Regions from separate parts of the Homo sapiens genome. Here regions 2 and 3 are each linked to region 1. The links are contacts of gene promoters, found by promoter capture Hi-C in blood cells and fetal thymus (Javierre and others, 2016). All regions are on one chromosome and are shown on one strand. The core of a region is centred on a gene start or on the middle of the fragment in contact, and the rest is flanking DNA. Distances in the headings are between cores, read along the strand shown.

Region 1 (4,187 bases), core at 395-2,894:
GGCGGATCACCTGAGATCAGGAGTTTGAGACCAGCCTGACCAACATGGTGAAACCCCATCTCTACTAAAATATAAAAAATTAGCCGGGCATGGTGGTGGGTGCCTGTAGTCCCAGCTACTTGGGAGGCTGAGGCAGGAGAATCGCTTGAACCCAGGAGGCAGAGGTTCCAGTGAGCCGACATCACCCCACTGCACTCCAGCCTGGTGACAGAGCAAGACTCTGTCTCAAAAAAAAAAAAAAAAGAAAAAAAGAAACTTGCTGTCTCAAGCTTCTGTCACTGTAACAAATTACCATAAATGGATTAACTTAAGGCAACACAAAATTTATTGGCTGCCAGTTCGGAAGGTTACAAGTCTGAATGGATGAGCAGGGCCGTGTTCCTTTGGAGGCTCCAGGGAAGAGTACGTGTCCTCACCTTTCCCAGAGTACAGGGGCCACCTGCATTCCTTGGCTTGGGGCCGTTTCTTGCATGACTCCAAACCCTGCTTCCATTGGCACGTTCCCTTTTCCGATTCTGACCCTCTCGTCTCCCTCTTTTCTTTTTAAATTTTATTTATTTATTTATTTATTTATTTATTTATTTAGACAGAGTCTTGCTCTGTCGCCCAGGGCAATCTTGGCATACTGCAATCTCCGCCTCCCGGGTTCAGGCGATTCTCCTGCCTCAGCCTCCTGAGTAGCTGGTACTGTAGGCACTTGCCACCACACCTGGCTAATTTTTGTATTTTTAGTAGAGATGGGGTTTCACTATGTTGCCCAGGCTGGTCTTGAACTCCTGAGCTCAAGCCATCCTCCTGCCTTGGCCTCCCAAAATGTTGGCATTATAGGTGTGAGCCACTGAGCTTGGCCTTCTTTATAAAGACCTTTGTAATGACATTGGTCCCACCCAGATAATTCAGGATCATCTTCCAAGTCCCTTTTGCTACATGAAGTCACCTATTTACAGGTTCCAGGACTTAGGAGGTGGTTGTATTTGAGGACCATTATTCAGCCCTCAAATCATGGGGTGGAGACTGTGCCCATGACAGGCCCTGTTGGCTCTCGTGCCCAGAGCCAAACTCCAGCCCAGCTTCAGAGGCCCTGCAAGTTCTGGGCACTGCTTTCCCTCCAGGCCCCCAGCTCCCCAGCTCCTCACCCCTGCCTCTGGGCTCCAGTTCCTGGAAGGTAACTCGTTTCCTTTGGCCATGGCCTGGGAACAGGCTTCCAGGCCCTTCCCTCCCCTGCAGCCTGGCCTGGCCATGCTGGGTTCCTGGAGTTCAGCTCACAGGGACCAGGTGGCCAGTTGGAAGGGCAGACAGGCCACCCAGCACCAGATTCCAGGACCCCGAGAGAACCGGGGAACCAGAGTGCCTGGGGATTTGCAGACAGACTGTGAACTGGGCCATACTTATCTTTCCCCCTCCCATGCGAAAGCCATTTCCTCCCACGAAGCAGGAAAAATCTCAGCCAGCCTCTGGGATTTCACTGAAAACCCAGCACCACAAACCTCAAACATGGAGTCCTCCTGTTTTTCTAGTAAGTTTTTTTCTCCAAGACGGCAGCTTCTGAGTCTCCTCTCTCCTCAAGACTCCCAGTGCCCTGAACCAGCCTGAATCTTCACCCACTGATCTTCCATCTAAAAATAAAACACATCTGTACAATAAAATGTCATTTATCAAGAACAGAGCACAGAGGACTGGGTACTGTGGCTTACGCCTGTAATCCCAGCACTTCGGGAGGCTGAGGCTGGAGGATCTCTGGAGGCCAGGAGTTTGAGACCAGCCTGGACAACATGGTGAAAGCCCATCTCTACTAAAAATACAAAAAAATTAGCCAGGCATGGTAGTGCAAGCCTGTGATCCCAGCTGCTTGGGAGGCTGGGGCAGGAGGATCGCTTGAGCCCAGGAGGATTGCTTGAGCCCCAGGAGGTCAAGCACAGAGAAGTATTATGGAGTACTGTTTAAGAGTGTGAATTCTGCTGCCCGATTGCCCACCTTTAAGCAGCCCTGCTTCTTACCAGCTGTGTGACTTTGGGGAAGGTGATTGCCCTCTGTGCCTGCTTCCTCATTTGTAAGATGAGGATGACAGAATATAACAGTAGCTACCTCAAAGGCTTTTCATGCAAATGAAGTATTTGCAAAGTGCTTGGAACAGGGTCAGGCATATAGTAAGCATCATCTACATTTTTGTTAAATAATAAAATTTGTTTCTTCAGCTTCTTACCAGGAAATCTGCATTTGCTGGACGTGTGTGCCCTTGTCCTTCTCTCCTGCCCCTTGGAGGACGTTTCTGTGCTTCATATTGAAAGCCAGTCCTGTGGCCAGGCACGGTGGCTGACGCCTGTAATCCCAGCACTTTGGGAGGCCGAGGCGGGTGGATCACTTGAGGCCAGGAGTTCGAGATCCAGCCTGGCTAATATGGTGAAAACCTGTCTCTACTAAAAATACAAAAATTAACCGGGCGTGGTGGCGGGTGCCTGTAATTCCAGCTACTTGGGAGGCTGAGGCAGGAGGATCGCTGGAGCCTGGGAGGCTGCAGTGAGCCATGATTGCACCACTGCACTCCAGCCTGGGTGACAGAGTGAGACCCTGTCTCGAAAAGGAAAAAAAAAAAAGGAATTTTTCTCTCTCTCTTTATTTTTTTTTACAGTGTTATACACCTTGCTTTATTAAACAGTGTTTTGTGAGGATGTCAGCAAATCATTTCATACAAAGGAAATCTTCCCATCTCAGCACATAGAGAACTTCCTCCTTATTTCGTGTAACCATGCATAGTATTCTACTACACGGATGCGCCACAATTTATGTTTGTGTACCACTAAGCATAGTCCTCTATAAATGGATACACTCCAATTCCAACCGATTGCTGTTACTCTCTTTAGTTTTCCAAACACTCACTCTTGGGCTTCCCCCCAGCCCTCTTCTGCTGTCTCCTGGATTCTTTGTCTGCTGTCTGACACTGACACGCTGGGACTGCCAGAGGCATGGGCTTGGGCCATCTCTTCGTCTTTCCCCACACCCTTTCCCTAGATCAAGCTTCTCCAACTTGCGGCCCGTGGGCTGCATGCGGCCCAGGATGGCTCTGAAGGTGGCCCAACACAAATTCGTAAACTTTCTTAGAACATTATGAGATTTTGGCCGGGTGCGGTGGCAACGCCTATAATCCCAGCACTTTCGGAGGCTGAGGCGAGCGGATCACCTGAGGTCGGGAGTTCGAGACCAGCCTGACCAACATGGAGAAACCCTGTTTCTACTAAAAATACAAAATTAGCCGGGTGTGGTGGTGCATGCCTATAATCCCAGCTACTTGGGAGGCTGAGGAAGGAGAATCACTTGAACCCAGAGGTGGAGGTTGCAGTGAGCCGAGACTGGGCCATTGCACTCCAGCCTGGGCAACAAGAGCGAAACTCCGTCTCGAAAACAAAAAACAACAACAACAACAAAAAATGAGATTTTTTTTTTTTGCGATTTTTTTTTTTTTTTAGCTCATCAGCTATTGTTAGTGTTAGCGTATTTTATGTGTTGCCCAAGACAATTCTTCTTCCAGTGTGGCCCAGGGAAGCCAAAAGATTGGACACCTCTGGCCTAAATGAGCTCATCTAGCTCCATGGCTTAAGATATTTCCCGTGTGCCAATGGCTTCTAAATTTTTATCTCCACCCCATCTCTGAACTCCAGGCTCATATATCTAACTCGGCTTGGAAGCCTACAAGGCATATCAAATTTAAGACATTCAAAATGGGATTCCCCACTCCCAAGTTCATTTTCCCTAGAGCTTCCTCATCTCACTGAATGGACGCACCATCATTCTAACAGTTCAAGCCCAAAGCTGAGTCAATTAAAAAAAACAAAAAACAACAACAACAAAAAAGCCGGGCGCGGTGGCTCACGCCTGTAATCCCAGCACTTTGGGAGGCTGAGACAGGTGGATCACCTGGGGTCGGGAGTTTGAGACCAGCATGACCAACATGGTGAAACCCCATCTCTACTAAAAACACAAAATTAGCCGGGCATGGTGGTGCGTGCCTGTAATCCCAGCTACTCGGGAGGCTGAGGCAGGAGAATCGCTTGAACCTGGGGTGGCGTAGGTTGCAGTGAGCCGAGATCGTGCCATTGCACCCCAGCCTGGGCAACAAGAGGGAAACTCCGTCTGAAAAAAAAAAAAGTTTTGTATTGAGGTGAAATTCACATAATATAAAATGAACCATT
Region 2 (4,501 bases), core at 1,272-3,771, 300 kb after region 1:
GTAGAGGGTGCAGTGAGCTGTGATCACACCACTGCACTCCAGACTGGGCATCAGAGTGAGACCCTGCCTCTTAAAAAAACAAATGGTGTGTTGTATATTTCAAAATTGCTGAAGAGTATATTTTAAATGTTCTAGTGACAAAAAGTAATAAGTATATTAGGTGGTAGATATGGTAATTAATTTGATTTATCATTTAACAAGGCAAACATACATTAAATCATCATATTTTACCCCATAAATATACACAATTATTCTTTGTCAACTTCTTAAAAAGATTCCTAGCAGAAAACATACAAGTAAGTCTTAATGACCTCGAGTTAGGTAATATTTTCTTAGATATTACACCAAAAGCACAAGAGAGAAAAGAAAGAATAGACTTCATCAAAAATTAAAAACCTATGCACTGCAAGCAATAGCATCAAGGAAATGAACACAATCCACATAATGAGGAAAGTATTTGCAAATTATATATATGATAAGGGATGAGTATCCAGCATATCTTCTAAAACTCTTACAACTAAATAATAATAAAATAAATAACCCAATTTAAACATGGAAAAATCTGAATAAACCTTTTCTCAAAAAGGAATACAAATGGCCAATAAGCACATGGAAAAGACACTCAGCATTGTTATTTACCAAGGAAACGCAAATTAAAACTACACAGGATATCACACCCACCCACCCAGATGACTGTAATAAACAGGAAAATAGAAAATAACAAAGGTTGAAGAATCTGGAGAGAAATGTGAGCCCTCATACACTGCTGGTGGGAATGTAATTGATGCAGCTCTGTGGAAAACAGTTTGCCAATTCCTCAAAAAGTTAAACAGAATTACCATGTGGCGTAGCAATTCCACTCCTATGTGTACACCCAAGATAACTGAAAACAGGTTCTCAAGCAAATACATGTATACATATGTTTGTAACAGCACTATTCACAATAGCCAAATGGTGGAAACAGCCCAAGTGTCCATCAACAGATGAATGGATAAATGAATGCTGATACATGGATACAATTGAATTTATTCAGTTGTAAAAAGGAATGAAGTACTAATAAATTCTATAATGGGGATATGCCTTGAAAACATTAAGTTAAAAAAAAAGTTACACGAAAGGTCACTTATAAATGGTGTGATTCCATTTATATGAAATGTCCCAGATAGGTAAATCCATAGAGACAGAAAGCTGACTGGTGGTTGCCAAGGGTGAGGGTAGAGGGGAAAGAGAGGAACAGCTAAATGGGCATGCGGTGGTCGGGGGCTATGGAGCCAGGTGACTCGGAGGTAAAAAGCAATTCTGGAAGATGACTGAGCTACTCTTCCTTCAACTTGAGAGAGGAAGGAAGAGAAGGAAGGAGAGGAGGGAAAAGACAGGGAGGGGAGAGGGGAAGAGAAGAGAGGGGGATGTGAGACAGAGGGACACAGGGAGATGGGGAGGGGAGGGGGAGGGGGAGAGGGGAAGAGGGGGAGAGGTGGAAAGGGTGAGGGGTGAGTGGGAAAGAGAAAGAGAGAGAGAGAGAAAAGGGAGAGAGAGAAAAGAGAGGGAGAGAGAAAGAGAGGGAGAGAGAAAGAGAGAGAGAAGAGAGAGAGAGAGAAGAGAGAGAGGGAGAGAGAGAGATGGTTGCCCAAAAAGAAGTTAGTGAACACAGCAGGCATTGCTCATCTTGATGGAATACACACAACAAAACTCAGTCCACTGCCTGGGCTGCCCTTACTTACCCAGCACACTCCTGGGGTAGTCGGTCCTCATGCCTGAGACACTGAACCTCATGATTTCCTGGCGCTGAGAGCCCAGGAACTCCAGGCAATAGTGCCTGGGCTACAGGGCTGGGTCTGGTTCGAGGGCAGGATGATCCCCTCATCACAGTCCCAACAGATTGCAGATCTAGTCTCCACTCCTGAGTGTCAACTGGCACAACCACAGTCCAATATCTGGAAGAGTCAGAGCTGATGAGCTGGCAGGGGACCTCTGGGAGCCCCCAACCCTATCCACAGTGCTATAATCCTCCCTCCTTTCTTCTCCCTCCACTCACCACACCCATTCTCACCTATGGTCCCTTCTGAGTCTGAGCCCAGGAGTTCAAAAATAAAGATCAGCTGAGAGAAGAATGACAGTGATTCTGGGGTCACCAGATCATGATCATGGGGCACAAGATGATGTCTCTGAGTTTCTTTGGTTGCTGTAACAGCTCAGAGCAGATTTTGGGACTGACTCTGTGTGCAGGTTCTGGGCATTGGGCTTGGCAGGTGAGGAAATGCAGGGAGGGCTCTGGAAAGGGTTAAGCTTCTGGAATTTGCAGGTGGGGAAGAGAGATTGCAATGCAGTCAGAGAGGACACGGGTGATTATGAGGTGGGAAACCAAGAATTAAATAGGGAAGAGAGAATTAAGTTTGAGGTTCAGAGGTACATTAGGGATAACAGTAGGCATTAGCTCAACCTGGGGCAAGGGTTACCTTACCGAAGATTCTGGGCACCATGGAGCTTCAGAGCAGCTGATGGGACAGCAGCAGTGCAAATGGGTCAGTGACTTTATACAGGGACTTATGTAGGCTATGAACTTATCCACATTTAGGGAGGTGCCCAGAAGCACTGGCCTCTTGGAAAGGGTGGGGCATGAGAAGCCACAGAAAGCATAAGAAAAAACTGCATCAACAGCTTAGTAAGATGTTCCTGGACCTGTTCCAAGTGACTGCTACCTTCTCAGACCTCTCGAAATCTCAGAGTAAAGGCTTCCCTAGAACCTTTCAAAGCCGTGAGTGAGTGTCATTCTTTGAACTCTGCCCACGGCAAAGAGACTTGAAAGAGATTCCTTGGCTCTCACTTATCTGAGAGCATACTACTCACCAAACATCACAGCTGGTGATGAAACTTCATATTCATCCACCCTGAAGTTTCAAGGGGTCCCTCTACTCCCCATCTCAGTCCGGCTCCAGACCTGCACTATGAGAAACAAACGCACCCGTCCAAACCCAAAGAATGGACTCAGAGACACAGAAAACAGTGGAAGCAAGACTTTTAATGATGGTCTTGCAAGATTGAATGTCTGGTAGGCAGGCACACCCAGTACGGTTACAACAAGCTATTTATCCCCTAGTGCACAAGTCTCTCCCCTGGTTCCTCGTAGGCTAAGTACGATGGGGTCACGATCTTCCCAGACGTCGCCTATTGGTTGCTGGGTTGAGGCTTTTAGGTGTTTTCTTTAGGATTGTCTCACTGCATTTTGTTGCAGCCTATAATACATTGCAATCAAAGCCAGCTCGAGGGCTTTTCAAGTATTTGACTTATGACCTAGGCAGTCAGGCAAGCTGATAAGAATAGATAAAGTGAGCTATTTTGCTGGCTAGTAAACTTTCATTCTAGACTAAACTCTGGTTTGGGAGAGGGTAACTAAGGGGACCCCGACAAGCATGCACCAGCTATGGGCCTAGTATATTCTGTCCTTCCATAGTTTGTGGGCCTCAGCCTATCTGAGGTACTTTGTCTTGGAAATGGACCACCATATCCATTATTATAATTGTAGACAGCACTGTCTATAATTCTTCAGAGTCATTTAGGGGAAACTGTGAAGATGCAGCATAATCTAGAAAAAGAGCAGGGGCTGTAAAAACCCTGCCAGGGAGAACAGAAAAGGAACAGACAGTGATAAAATAGACATCTGGGATTCATAGAATAGATGGAAAGGCAGCCCCTTTTTGTTGTTGTTTCTGGAGTGCTTTGTCCAAGGAAACGCTCCTTCTGTGTTTCTTACTGTTATTTTATTGTCACCATCACTATTATTTGTGTCACTGGATACCATGTGGGCTATTATTAGAATGCGCTCCTGTGTTTTCCATTGACTTCCTTCCCATCCCACAGTGAGATAGGTGGGAGGGTGAGACAGAGATCAGGAGAGGTGTTAGGGCTTTATAAAAGTGCATTGTTAGTAGAAGAGTTCTGGACCTGATAAGTGAATTTAGAAAGGTTGTAGCGTATGAAACACACAGAAGTCAATTGTATTCCTTTATACTGGCAAGAACTAGTGGATACAATAATTTAAAGAAAAAAAATGCCATTTACAATACCCCCCTCCCCAAAAACTGAACTGGTATACTGTAAATCTAGGAGAACATATAAAGGATGTGTACGATTAAAGTATTCAAGGAAACCTTAAATACAGAGTGGTATATCATGTCGTGGTTTGGAATCTGTAATTTAGGTAAGATGCCAATTCTTTCCAAATTATCTACAGATTTAACACAATTCCAATCAAACCCAAGCAGGATTTGTCTGAGAGAGAAACAAAATAACTCTAGAATTTATATAGAAAAGCAATGGAAACTAGAATGGCCAACACAATTTTGGATGAGGAAAGATGGTAGAGGACTCACACTATCCAATTTCACAATTACTCAAGCTACAGTAATGACAACAGTGTAGTATTGGCAAATGGATAGACATGGATAGACACATAGATCAAAGGAACAGAATAGGTTCCAGAAATAAACCCAAACAAATATAG
Region 3 (4,618 bases), core at 1,341-3,840, 320 kb after region 1:
GCTGGGACTGCAGGCATGTACCACCATGCCCAACTAATTTTATTTTTGTTTTCTGGTACAGACAGGGTCTCGCTTTGTTGCCCAGGCTGGTCTTGAACTCCTGGCTTTAAGCTGTTCTCCCACCTCAGCCTCCCAAAGTGCCAGGATTACAGGTGTCAGCCACTGTGCCCAGACTATTTTGCAGCTTTCTTAAGAAAGCACAGTTGAGGAGAGAAAATACGAAAAGCTTGACACACTCCAGCTACTGTGCTGGGAGCTTTTCAAGTGTGTCTTCATCTGATCCTCATAAATATACTAAGTTTCAAATTGGAATGACTCTCCTCCACTCAGAGATGTACATATATATTCTACATTCCCATACCCTTGAACTAGTGATGCATCGTATCATCAATAGGGTCTTGCAATAGCTATCAGACAAGCAGAGTGACATAGCTGCTGCCAGTTGTACAGGGACGAACTAAGTCTTCAGGTTAATATTCTTGACACTTCAATTAAGTTGTGTGGATTGCTTATGTTTCATGTGTTGAGTGTAACTGTCATTTTAAATATCAGAAAACACCATGATTTGGCTTGTGTGTTGTGTGTGCAGAATGACACATTAATAGAAGACGATGACGTAAATTTACTGTTAATGAAGCACATGCTCATTGTTTTAGGAATGAACCCAAGTACATATTTTCTTGCAGATCAACAACCAAGTGCTTTATGGGGCACAAGAAGATAAAGAGATGAAGAGTATCACATTTTGTTTCTGAGACAGGCACAGAAGGATTGCCTAGCACAAGGAAAACAACATAATGAAAGGCAGAAGGAGTTGTCAAAATCTCTAGGAATAGATGAAAGAAAATTCAAAGAAAGAAGGGGCTAGTGTCACCAGTTCAATGATAACTTGCAGTATGGGTGTCAGCAGCTTAGAATAAAACCAAACTTTGCATGACCAATGCTGTTGGTAGAACTGAGAATGATGTTGTGTAAGAAAGCACAGGAACCAATCTGGGGTTGAAAGATGATTCACAGGAGGCAGTCTCCAAATGTGGAGACATTTTAAGAAATCTTTAACAGATTTATTTCCCATATATTTTTATTTTTCTATTCGCCTTCCAAAAGTCTACGTCTCAACATGTTGCAAGAAGCTCTGTTAATAAACATTCTAAGTGATGAGATTGCATCTTAGAGTTGCAAAACAACAGTGTATCTTTCAATAACATCTTAGTGTTAATGAGATACAACATAAGGATTTCTCTAAATGATTATCATTATAAAATGCATTAAAAATTATCCCTTCAAGCTGCCCCTTGCCACTTCTGTAAGATGAAAAATTAAGTACACATTAACTTCCCAATGCCCAATAGTAAAGCTGAAGTTTCATTTGGAATAAGAATGATAATTGTATATTAAAGATATTATTATTTGTCCTTTGTATTTTACCTAATCAAACTCAAACGTTTCTTTTTAACATTTGGTAGTAAACAAGCTGACAGCCTGGGCTCACTAGGAATCTTCACATTGTTGGCCTTCTTAGGTTCCGGGGTAGGGGAGAGCAGCCTTGTGCATCCAAACCACACCCCACACCTCCGCACATGTACAGGAAGCTAAGAATGAAGCTCAGAAAAGGAGAACCATTTCAAAGGCTATGGTACAGGCTGGATGAACTTAAGTCAGCAACTCTTCCCTATGCTGTGCCAGCAAGTGGAGGATGGAAAGTCTGGCCAATCCTTAGACATTTTCTGATTGAATCATCACACATCCATGAAGACTGAGGTCCTTTCCACAGCTTCGGGATTATTTGAATTTGTCCAAGCCCTTCCCTAGCTGGCACTTGCCTGGCAGGCCTCAGTTTGCCCTGCCCTTCCCTCTGTCTGCACACCTAAGTACTACACACTCCTAAGTACTACATCACTTATCATTGGCCACTAATATAATATGATTATGAAAAGCAGGTGTTTAGTACTTTCCCTGACCATGTAACTAAGATGCTGGAGGTCTCTGAATCCTCACACCAAGCACACCAGGAGATTTGGGCCATTGCTATTCTCCACCCCTACCCCCTTTATTGGAGTTTCCAGAGCCGTGGCTCAACTGCTAGAGCAGGTGGCAACTCTAATGACTCCAGAGCAAAAAATAAAGTGGCTTCATAAACGGTCCCCTTGACATTTCCAGAGACATCGTGCTTGGGGAATATAGAAGAAGCAAGTATTAGGAAGGGGAGGATGTGAAACCAGATGGGGAAGTGGCTGAAGCATTCTCTCTGATTGGAGCTTAGTTGGGCACTGTCTCCTCAATGTCGGAGCTTGAAAACTCTTAGAAGCCTAACTTGGAGTAGGACCAACCTACACTCATTCACCCTGAGGTCTGCAATAGTATATGGAGAATGCAATGAGTCAGTCTGCAACATTCGGCTCTGTGGTCCCTTACGCCACCCAGTCTCCTCCTTAAAGAAACTAATGAATGTGCTTGGGAGACTTTGGTTATCTTCAAGGAATGTGCTTGGGAGACTGCAGGTGGCATGATCAGCAGCCATCCAATCAGTAAACTTACCAGGTTAACAGACAACCCCATTTAGGCTGTCTCCATAAGTTCCAGCCTTTTACCACTCTTCTTCAATTCTCCTAGAGCATCTTTGGAAGCATGAGGCCACGATGCTGCATCTTGGGCAAGTAGGACCCCAAATCCAAACATCATCTCATCTCATTCCCAGTGCAGCTCCCAAACCTCAACCCGATTTATTCCTCTTTATCTCTAACATTATTCCAGCCTCCTGTGCCCTACTAGTCACCTCAAAGGGTGACTGAGCGTGCTGCTCAGGGCCTGCCTGAACGGGATCCCATACAGACTTAGCCCCAAGTGATAATCTCCACCTTTAAACCACCCTAACCTCTGTTTGTTTGTTTGTTTGTTTTTTCCATACTTGTCACATTCTCAGCTCCATGTTCAACCTTTTTCCTTTCTCCCTTAGCTCTTGTCTGCTGGATAACAGTCTTCCTCCTCCAGTGTTCAAAAGGAACTACAGGTAAGGACAGGACAGGGAAAAATGAGGAGGGAAGAGGTGGTGTTGGGAAAAGAGACTGGGAATTGAGTATCTGTTCTTCCTTGGATGTACACCATCAATGTCTGCCCCCAGACGCTCCTGTTGGCTCAGGACTGTGGCTGTGCCAGCCGACACCCAGGTGTGGGAACAAGATCTACAACCCTTCAGAGCAGTGCTGTTATGATGATGCCATCTTATCCTTAAAGGAGACCCGCCGCTGTGGCTCCACCTGCACCTTCTGGCCCTGCTTTGAGCTCTGCTGTCCCGAGTCTTTTGGCCCCCAGCAGAAGTTTCTTGTGAAGTTGAGGGTTCTGGGTATGAAGTCTCAGTGTCACTTATCTCCCATCTCCCGGAGCTGTACCAGGTAAAGGTCCCTACCTTGCTCTTAACTAAAGGAATGAGGGAGGGATGAGGGATACAGAGGGCTTGAAGAGGAACTCCTGTTTGTGGAGTTCTAACGGCAAAAGAGTCAGGCTGGTGGCAGCAGGGGAAAGCAAAAAGAAGAAGCAGATAAGCTATAAGTCTGCCTTTCTTCATGGTCGAGGACAAACAGTCCTCCTGCATAAATAACTCACAATCTTCTTGCACCCAGCTATCACCAGACACTCAGCTGGTAGAAAAATGCAAGCAGTGCAGTTGCCTTCCTGATGTAAAAAAACATGCTAAATAATCCAGTGTCAGGAAGACAAAGATGTTTTGCTTCTCTGAAGAAGCTTATAATAATATACAGTATATGTATATGCAGGGAACAATTGGTCAAAAGTGGCTTTTTTGTTTCCCCAAGGGGAAAGACTGGCTTTGTAATTATAATTTTTTCCTTACTTTACTTAAAACTGGTAGAGTCTAAGTATTGTATGAAGTGTCCATGATTCTGTCAGTAAATTTGAGCATATTTTTATTAGTTAATGTCAGTTTAAGTAGTCCTTTTGTTTCTATTTTTAAGATGAATTTTAAATTCTATCTGAAATCAGTAAGATACCTGGAGAAAAACTGCAGTGAGAGGAGGTCAGTATCCTTTTTCAGGAGGAACTGATATCTCTGGCTAAATATCTGTCCTTTTATTATGGTTTCTAAATCGGTTATTTTCTTCAGCTTTAAGTTCATAAAATTAAAAAAACTATTAAAAAATTCCTGTAGCTGTTGGAATAATTAAAAATTCTGGTGCAGTGGTGGTATACCAATCTTTAGAATTCTTAAGTAATCTAATGTTTCAAGTTGAGGTCATGCTTGGGAAAATCATGTCATAGCATTTACATTATTTTCAAATGTCATTTTTTTTACCCTGGAAAGAAGTAATAATGTTCATCATAACCCTAGCAGTCTGGATAGTGAGCTAAACAAACCCTTGGAAGATTACATTTTAATCAAGTAGACTAGGAATACAAAAAACAAGTCCTTCCTCCCCTTCCTCCCACCTTTACAATCTTACTGGAAGGGTGTTCAGAAATTAAAATTTGTGTTTGCTAAGACTTTATTCTGTTGGGGGTTTTAAGAGGTAATACGTGTAATGTAAAATGTATGTAAACCATTGCAGTTTTTTGGGGCATTTTTCCATGCAACAGTAAGTTGTCTGACAGTAACCGAATGTAA

What was found. Contacts are between HindIII fragments. The CHiCAGO score rates a contact against its expected background, and 5 or more counts as called.
Region 2: the fragment with the promoter of IGFL2 here is called in contact with a fragment that was not itself captured in region 1 in 1 of 17 cell types (M1 macrophages); the score reaches 5.6 in M1 macrophages.
Region 3: a contact is called between the fragment with the promoter of IGFL3 here and a fragment that was not itself captured in region 1, in 1 of 17 cell types (M2 macrophages). The highest score is 5.4, in M2 macrophages.

The regions. Positions count from the first base shown.
Region 1 is chr19:46,445,059-46,449,245 of GRCh38, reverse strand. No RefSeq gene overlaps it. Among named protein-coding and RNA genes, the nearest start is that of PNMA8C, 18 kb to the right of the region's middle. The HindIII fragment of the contact is 2,746 bases long and covers 272-3,017 here.
Region 2 is chr19:46,146,258-46,150,758 of GRCh38, reverse strand. It overlaps IGFL2 (IGF like family member 2), which reads right to left and starts at 2,521. Exons shown (of 4, transcript NM_001135113.2): 1 at 2,462-2,521. The coding sequence starts at 2,480. The HindIII fragment of the contact is 5,659 bases long and covers 2,289-4,501 here.
Region 3 is chr19:46,122,660-46,127,277 of GRCh38, reverse strand. IGFL3 (IGF like family member 3) reads left to right here and starts at 2,590. Exons shown (of 4, transcript NM_207393.2): 1 at 2,590-2,653; 2 at 2,957-3,010; 3 at 3,122-3,392. The coding sequence starts at 2,629. It also overlaps a transcript of IGFL2 not described here. The HindIII fragment of the contact is 3,515 bases long and covers 229-3,743 here.